2 separate regions of the Homo sapiens genome follow, and region 1 is linked to region 2. Evidence: promoter capture Hi-C in 16 types of primary human blood cells and fetal thymus (Javierre and others, 2016). All regions are on one chromosome and are shown on one strand. Each heading gives the region's core, a stretch centred on a gene start or on the middle of the fragment in contact. The rest is flanking DNA. Distances are from core to core; before and after follow the strand shown.

The links. The method cuts DNA at HindIII sites, captures the fragments that hold promoters and counts their contacts. A CHiCAGO score of 5 or more calls a contact.
Region 1: a contact is called between a fragment that was not itself captured here and the fragment with the promoter of PRLR in region 2, in 1 of 17 cell types (monocytes). The highest score is 5.1, in monocytes.

What each region holds. Positions count from the first base shown.
Region 1 is chr5:35,551,883-35,556,172 of GRCh38, forward strand. No RefSeq gene overlaps it. Among named protein-coding and RNA genes, the nearest start is that of SPEF2, 64 kb to the right of the region's middle. The HindIII fragment of the contact is 8,248 bases long and covers 1-4,290 here.
Region 2 is chr5:35,228,319-35,232,313 of GRCh38, forward strand. PRLR (prolactin receptor) reads right to left here and starts at 2,169. Exons shown (of 10, transcript NM_000949.7): 1 at 1,950-2,169. The HindIII fragment of the contact is 6,146 bases long and covers 1-3,995 here.

The DNA.
Region 1 (4,290 bases), core at 104-2,603, 320 kb after region 2:
ATCATTACTCTTAAGGTTAAAAAAGAGAGTATTTACAAGGAATAGTTAGAAAAGTTGATAAGATAAAATATAATTGAATTCTAAAAGCACAAGTGGGCCTGTGAATAATCTAAGATGGGGCAAATATTCTCATTCTGAAGAATGTAAGTTATCAATTACTTTGCCCATTTATAGCATTTAATATGACATCACTACTTCAAAGAAGCCTCAGTTGGAGACACGGAGACACCATAAAATTCAAGGTTTAATGATTATTATTTATATTATAAATATCAGGGGATCAAAACATATTTAGATAATTGGACTGTTTTATCATTCTATTATGTTACTTCTTACATTTCTTTTCATTGTTGTTTTAGTGGTAGTCATATTTAATGAGTTAGCATCTGAACCTGACTAAGGTAAGTTTAAATGAAAAGTGTTTTTACATGTTGAATATACCTGTCACCTATATTTTAGGTTCACTCTTTGCCTCTCTAGTTCTGTCTCATAGATATGAAGATGGTGTCTTAATCGAGCTAATCCTTCTTCTCTTTTCTTCGAAAGTGCTACAATTTCTCAGTAGTAACTATGGCACACCACTATGAGTTATGCTTCTGGGAGTCTATTTGCCTTCTACCAAGCTCAGTTCTCAACAGGGCAATACCTCTGCCTTTAACCCCCCTCCTGCAGGATACAGTCCAATTATTCTCAGAGCCACTCCTGGGGAAAGCAGAAGCAAAAATTTCATGGGAAATAGGGACATCTCTCATGAGAAAATCACCACTTTACAAGCCAGCAGAAATCATATGAGCACTCATTAGTTGCCCCCATGCAGTATAAACCCAGAATTCCTAAGCCCTACTTAAGAATGTGCCTAAACATAGGAATGATACAATGGACTTTGAGGGCCCAGGAGAAAAGGTGGGTGTCAAGTGAGGGATAAAAGATTGCAAATTGGGTTCAGTATATACTGCTTAGGTGATGGGTACAACAAAGTCTCACAAATCACCACTAAAGAACTTACTCATGTAACTACCACCTGTTCACAAAAAACCTGTGGGAATAAAAAATTTTTTAAAAATCCTGTTTCCCTAAAAAAACAAACAATCATAGATTACATTCATTAAAAAGACTGCACTGTTCTTTCATTTTTGTTTTTTTCCCATTATATCTATGATTACATACACCTATTCTTCTGCCATCAATTCATATATGAACACCTTTTGGTAGTTTTAATTGGTTACCTCCCATAAATAGAGACTTATGTTAGAATAAAATGAAACCAATAGATTAAGGTTAAAAAAATAAAATTAAAATGTGCCTAAACATGGTTTAGGTGAGGACCAAAAGGAAAAATAATTTTAGATTATAAGCCTCTAGTATGTCCTATAGTTAGATAGTGCAGTAGATAGATGAAGCCAACTTGCCAGGGTAGGAAGGATAGATTTGGACTCCAGCAAAAAATGGCACAAAATGTTTGAAGTGTTTACTACTGATTCTTGATTCAGTCATGATATAAGTCAAGAATTCCCAGCTGTAACCTGAAACTAGCCTGCCACTTTAGCAACAAACTTTAATTTCAAATTAGAAATCCCTTTATCCATGTGTTAGAGATCAGCACAAGTTAATAGTTGAAAACAGTTGGCCTGCTTTCACGAAAAATAAGTTTTTGTTATAATTTTTGGGAAAACATTTTGCTTTGAAGGAAGCTGTGGCATGATGTCATTTTCAGAAGGGACTTCTATAAAAGTAGCCAACAATGATTTTGTTCTCCCATTCATCAGTTATTGCTTGCTTCTTAGATAACCCTCTTTAGTCAGTTGTACCTGGCCTTTTCATGGGTTCAGGTACCCAAAGCTGTTGCCTTCACTCTACAAATCCTATCCTGCCAGTACCAACAATGCTCTCTCAAATCATTTTTGCTGTCTTTCAACTCAATATGGTTAGTAAGATTTGAAAAACAAAATGAAATTAGGTAAATGACATTTTAGCAATCAGAGATTATTAATATATTTATGATCACACAAAGTTATTGCTAATATTTTTGCTGAATAGTCAATACTATGAAACATACAGTGCAACAGGAAGGAAACAATGGTCTCTGCATACAGAGATTGTGGCATTCGTTGGTGTTTTATCTATTGCTAAAAAAGAAATTACCTCAAAATTTAGCATTTTAAAACAACCATCTTATTTTGCTTATAATTTTGTGGTCAGGAATTTTAAAAAAGCTCAGCTAGGGATTCTCACTTGTTGTCTCTCAAAAAGTTGCAGTTGGATATTGGCTGGGACCCCAGTTATCTGCTCAACTTCCAAAATGGCTCGCTCAGCTGAGGCTGTCAACTAGAGTAATTGAACATAATGTCTTCCATATGACCTGGGTTTCTCACAGCATGGCTGCTTGGTCCTGAGAGCAGTATCCCAACGGGAAGCATTTAGACATCATGGATTTTAGTGGGCAAGGCAGGAACTACACAGTTTCTTCAGACCTAGCCCTAGGAGTTACACAATCTCATTTTCCCTGCGTTCTATCACCTGAAAGGCCACTCCAGTTGCAAAAAAAGAGGGGCATTTGGCTCTCTAATGTTAAAGAAATAAAAAGACGAATGTCAAATGATTTGTGGCTGTCTTATTCTGCCAAAACTACAGAAAATCCAGCTTTTTAGAGTGCCAACAAGAATTTCTCTCAGAAAAAAATATAAAAATCAGTGGAAGATTTTATTTTAAAGACTTCTACTTATCTACTCATAGATTAAAAAAATTAGTGAAGTGATTCTTTCTGCTGGGCTCATAGGAAAAGAAAATAGTATCTTTTTTTCCACATTATTCTGTTTACAGCTGTGCACATAGTGAAATTCTTGCAAGTATCAGAAAGATTTCTTTATTAACATTAATTTCCAGAAGAAAATTTTCCATCTGCTTTTTTAAACTAGGGTTATTTTCCACCGGATGTGTTTAGTATAAGTAGTCAGGAGGTATCATGTTATTTTTCTGAATTGTTCTAGTTCATATATTCATATTTTTTAAAGTATGGTTTTGAAAGAACCCATTTTTATCCAAAAGAAGTTCTGGTAGTATAAAATGTCATCCATATACTATGATGTAGTCAGTGCTTATATAAAGGAATCTGTGTTTTTGTTTAATATGATCTGGTAGATAAAAAGAAGAAATCTTATTACTTGAACAGCATCTACTTCTGACAGGTAATATGTGAGCAATTACCTGTTTGTGACTTTTTTTCCCACCTTTGAATTTTTCAGGAAAACTTCAACTTTGTCTTAATTTGTTTAGTTTGAAATCATGCAGCTGCATTTGCCTCCTTGTCAAAGAAAACAAAATTTCTTTCAGGTTGGGCAGAAAAGCATTATACCAGTTGTTTTGACCCCCAAGGACAGATTTAAATAGGGTTCATCAAATCAAAAACAACAAAGTAAAAGAAAATTGAAAGTGCCTATTGTCATCACTCCTGGCTCAGTGCTTCTCAAGCCTTAATGTACATGTGGAATCCTATGGAAAATGTAAACTGTTGATTCCTATTCAGCAGGTCTTGGGTAGGGTTGAATATTTACATTTTCAAAAGTTCCCAGGAAATGATGCTGCTGGTTAAAAGACTACATTTGGTGTAGTGAAGGGGTCCATTAACTTAGAAATAATTGAATTTGACTCTGAGGGGCACACTGGCAAAGAGAACCAGCAAAGAGTTGCTATATGTTTAAATGGACTTCCAAGAGCAACAAATTTAATGTATTTAAAACTCTCTTAAACTTTTTTTTAAATGTCATTAATGTTTACCAGTGGTAAAATATATAAAATTATGCAAAAATGAAAAAAACTGTCAGGTTTTATTTTATGATGACTTTTAATAAAGCAAATTATTATAGTCATGTAACAAATGACTATAGCTGAGGTTAGAAATCCATTTTCCTCAGAATAAAAACAAAGCTGATTACAATAAATTACTTTGGCTGATATTTTTTAAAATATTTAAAATGCTAATGCAAGGTGGTAAAATAGGAGGTCCTAGACTTCACTCCTACCCCAGAAGAAATTTCAACCAGCCACTATTCACACACGAAAACACCTTGATGAACACCTTAACATGTGGGAATAAGTCTGAGTCACCTGTGTGTTCCACGAAAGTGGAAAAAGGTGGGAGAAACGGTCTGGCTTTGGTTGTATTTCCCCTCCTCCTCTAAGTCAGCACCATGCCACACAGAGAAGATCCCTCAGGGCCCACAGTTTCTATACTGAGAAAAGAGAACCAGGTTGATGGACATCCAGGTTCCCTAGCTTTCTGAGACAGTTTCT
Region 2 (3,995 bases), core at 919-3,418:
TGTGGGAGTCAAGATCTGAAGCCCAGTCTGTTGAGCTCCAAAGCCCTGTGTGTTTTCTGATGTGCCTTGCTGGCACTGCTAGTGGAACACCCAGGGTCCCCAGAGATGTGAGTCCTTAGTCCTCTAAAGGCAAAGTACAGAGGTTCAAAAGAATATGGCTGCCTACTCATACTATGCCTCAGGGAGCAAAGACTGCTTCATTTCCAAACAAAGCCTTGGCCTCCCTGCCATCCAGCTAGGTGACCTGAAGAGCACTCTGATTCAGACAGCGATCCTCTTTAGATGGCTCTCCAGGGTTGGTGGGACTGAAAATTCTAGGGGTAAGGACTGTCGCCTTAGGAGAGTCATTAAAAAGGGTTGTGAGGAGGGGTCCCCTGGAGTCAGAGGCTGGTAGAGCTCTGGAGAGAGCATGTGGGGAGCTCACCCATGACAGGGGAGCTGTCTCCTTCAGCAGCGTGGCTGACTCCAGACCCCCAAGAAGGCTGTGGATTACTCCCACAGTCAGCCCAACCAGCAGCAAGGAGTTGGCTGGGTGGTCTTGATACAGGAGGAGGAATAAGGGATTGTCACCTGGGATTCAGGCATGGCTTTCAGGGAGTATCCACAAACCCTCAGGGATTGCATGTAAAATTTTATGTACATGCCATATGCATTTTGCCCCAGGAAGAGGACTCACAGCTAATTCTCAAAAGGACCTATCACCCCTAATTTTTAAGAACCACTGAAATTAATATTTTCATCTGCTCCTCTCTTGCACTATTCAGCACTTCCACCTCATTAAACATTTATATATATATTATATATATTTCTATAATATATATATATAATTAATTAATTCCCTAAACTTTGCAGAAAAAAAATCGAAGCCCAGAGAGGGTAAGTATCTTGCCCAAGTTTGCACAGCTGATGGTCAGGATTGGGATTAGCAGCACTTCCCTGGTCAAGTGAAGCACGATTTCAGGTGGGAAATCTTGCCCGGTCAACTTGACAAATGAAGACAAAGTGATCCCTCCAGACTAATAATAATGTTTTGCAACCATTTTCAAGTCCAGTCATAGAATCCCCTACGTTGCTTGTTTTCAGGGCAGTGTGGGTTGCTTCCCCAGGATACAGGTAGAGGTCACTAAAAGGATAGTTTTCTACTCAAAGAGCCAGAACTCCAGCCCTTGCCTTCCCCTGCCGTAGCACTCGGGCCGGCCCTCCAGTTACCTGAGTTTGCCTGACTTTAACCAACTCCTCTTCCCTTCCCTCCTCCCTTCTCCAGCGGGCTCTCCTTCCAGCTTCCTCCCGGGCTGCAATTCCTCTGCCTAGGTGCCTCCGTCCAGCTCCGGCTTCTGGCCCGGAGGCTGCTCATCTGCCCCTACCCCCGCTGACTTTTGGGAGGAGCAACACCTTTCAGGTCAGCATTGCTAACCCTAAACTTTCCCCGCCGGATGCCCGCGAGGCTGCTGCGGCGGCGGCTGCTGCTGATGGGAGAGTCTCGAGTCCGGCTTTCATCACATCACCTGTCTGCGCCCCTTCCCCCTCCCCGCTCTTTTTTTCTTTTCTTTTTATTTTGACGCAAATAATTTGCATTCTGAGAATCCCACAATCAACGCCGAAACTCATGCTCAAGGATACAGGTGAAGATGCCTTTGACAAAGGCGAATGCGAGCCGAGTGCAGTTTGTAAAAGCTGGGGTTGGGGGCAGTGGTGGAGGCAAAGCACCTTAAGAGTATTTTTTAGCCCCTCTGAGAAGGGACATCCGGGCGGGAGGCGGGCGGATCCCGGGCTTCCCCGCCGGCTGCCGACTCTGGCTCCTGGCTGGCGTTCTCTCCAGGAGCCCGCGCCGGTGGCCCCGCTCTCCCCTTCAGCACGCGGGCCTCGAACCCGCATCCCGGAGAGCGGCCGCCCGCGCAGCCCCTGCCGCGCGCCGTCGGAGGCGGCCTCAGCTCGCCATGGGTACTCACTTTTGCCAGGGAGCAAAGTCTGCCACATCAGTCGATGAGTACTTCCTGCACGAGGACATGAAGCTCCATTGTGTGGAAAGCTGTTTCGCGAACGGTCGGTAAAATCCAGAAAGAGGGAGAAGGAGTGAGTAAGGCAGAAAGCCCAGCCCAGAAAACCGGCGTCTGGGGATTTCAGCCTCCGCTCCCCGGTCCCCAGCCCGGTGGCTCTGTGAGAAGAAGCTCAACTCGGTGCACTTGTTCACTCTTTCTTCATGAGAGGAGGAGTCAGTGTTGCAACATTTATGTTCCTTGCTGGAGGCAAAACAGTGATTTTCTTCAGCATGCAAAACGTCCAGAGCCTGCCAGTTTTAGAAGGCGACGGAGGTAGTTGGGGGAGCTGGAATCCTGCGAAGACCTGAAGAAACAACTGATTCCCCCCAGATCGGTTTTGCATGATTAGGGCCACATATCTTTCATTGAGACTGTACCAGAAAATAGACAGACAAAACAATAATAAAAATGACTTAGTGAGTTGAATGACCTCAAAGATGATATTTTTCCAGGCAGCCAAGATGTGGAGTGTCTCCGTGTCAAATTTCTTTCCTTATTTCTGAGTAACATTGAACAGCAGCTATATTTGAGAGGTTCTCCAGGGATTTGAATTGCACCTTGCCTGAGGAGTCAGATAGAAAGGAGCAAAAGAAGATAGTCAGTGACCTAAGAAGGTTTTGCTTTTTTTTTTTTTTAATACCCAAAGCGCAAACTTCTAGTGTGCTGTGTTTATTCTCTGCCATATGAATATAATAAACATTGGCGGTGCCTAAATAGCCCCACTTCTGTTGTTTTCCACAAATAAAGAATTTATCTTTTCTAATGGGCTGCATGTTGTTCTGACTTTTCTTCTTCTTGAAACCACACACAACCGCCTTTTCTCTTGCAAAAACAAAAACCCCACATTTAACAGTGCTGAAACAAATAATAGCACCTGCCTGAATCAAATAGTTATTTCTGACTATGTATGTTGCTGGTGTCATTTGATGCCATAATAATTAATGCATCCGATTGTTACACAACCCAGAGGGCCACCAAGGAAATACTTTAAACCAAGGTTACTGAGTTTTTTTTTTTGTTTGTTTTTGTTTGTTTTTTTGAGACAGAGTCTCGCTCTGTCGCTCAGGCTGGATTGCAGTGACCCCATCTCGGCTCACTGGAACCTCTGCCTCCTGGATTCAAGCAATTGTCCTGCTTCAGCCTCCCGAGTAGGTGGGACTACAGGCGCGTGCCACCATGTCCGGCTAGTTTTTTGTATTTTTAGTAGAGATGAGGTTTCACCCTGTTAGCCAGGATGGTCTTGATTTCCTGACCTCATGATCCACCCACCTTGGCCTCCTGAAGTGCTGGGATTACAGGCGTGAGCCACTGCGCCTGGCCGTTTTTTTTTTTGTTTTGTTTTAAGTTATTGAAACATGAGGCTTTCCCCTTTGATTTGACTGCTACTCTGGATAACTGGGAAATCACAGTTAGCAGTGAGCATTTGCCAAGCCACAGGAAGCCATTGAAAATCCCATGATGCTTTGGTGATCCTTTTGGACTGGAATCCCAGAAGCAACTACCTAGGCATAATAACCTAATACTTCCTGATCAATAACACGTCCTTATTAAAACATAGACTCCACCTGGTTCTGTTAGCTGATGGGAGATGCATCTTTCACGTGCAGACCGCACATGCTTCCTGTGATGATTAGGGTATATTTACTTTCATTCATGGGTGTCCATGAAGGTACGCAACTTCTATTTATTTTCAGAACCACTGGGCGACATGAGATCCTCAGTGGCAGAATATTTCTATATGACCTTTGCAAAGCAAAGGGTCACTCAATTCTACAATAGTTGTTCTAATCAGACTATTTTAACAGTTAGTGAAATAGAAGATCACTCTGGGTAACTCCAGACTGTCAGCTCTTAGAAGGCAGGGACTTGGCTTTTCCTCCTTGTGGTTCCCACTCAGCTGCAGGCAGCTTGGCTCGTCTGTACTCCTGGCTTACAGACTGGTCGTTGCGTGGCTAA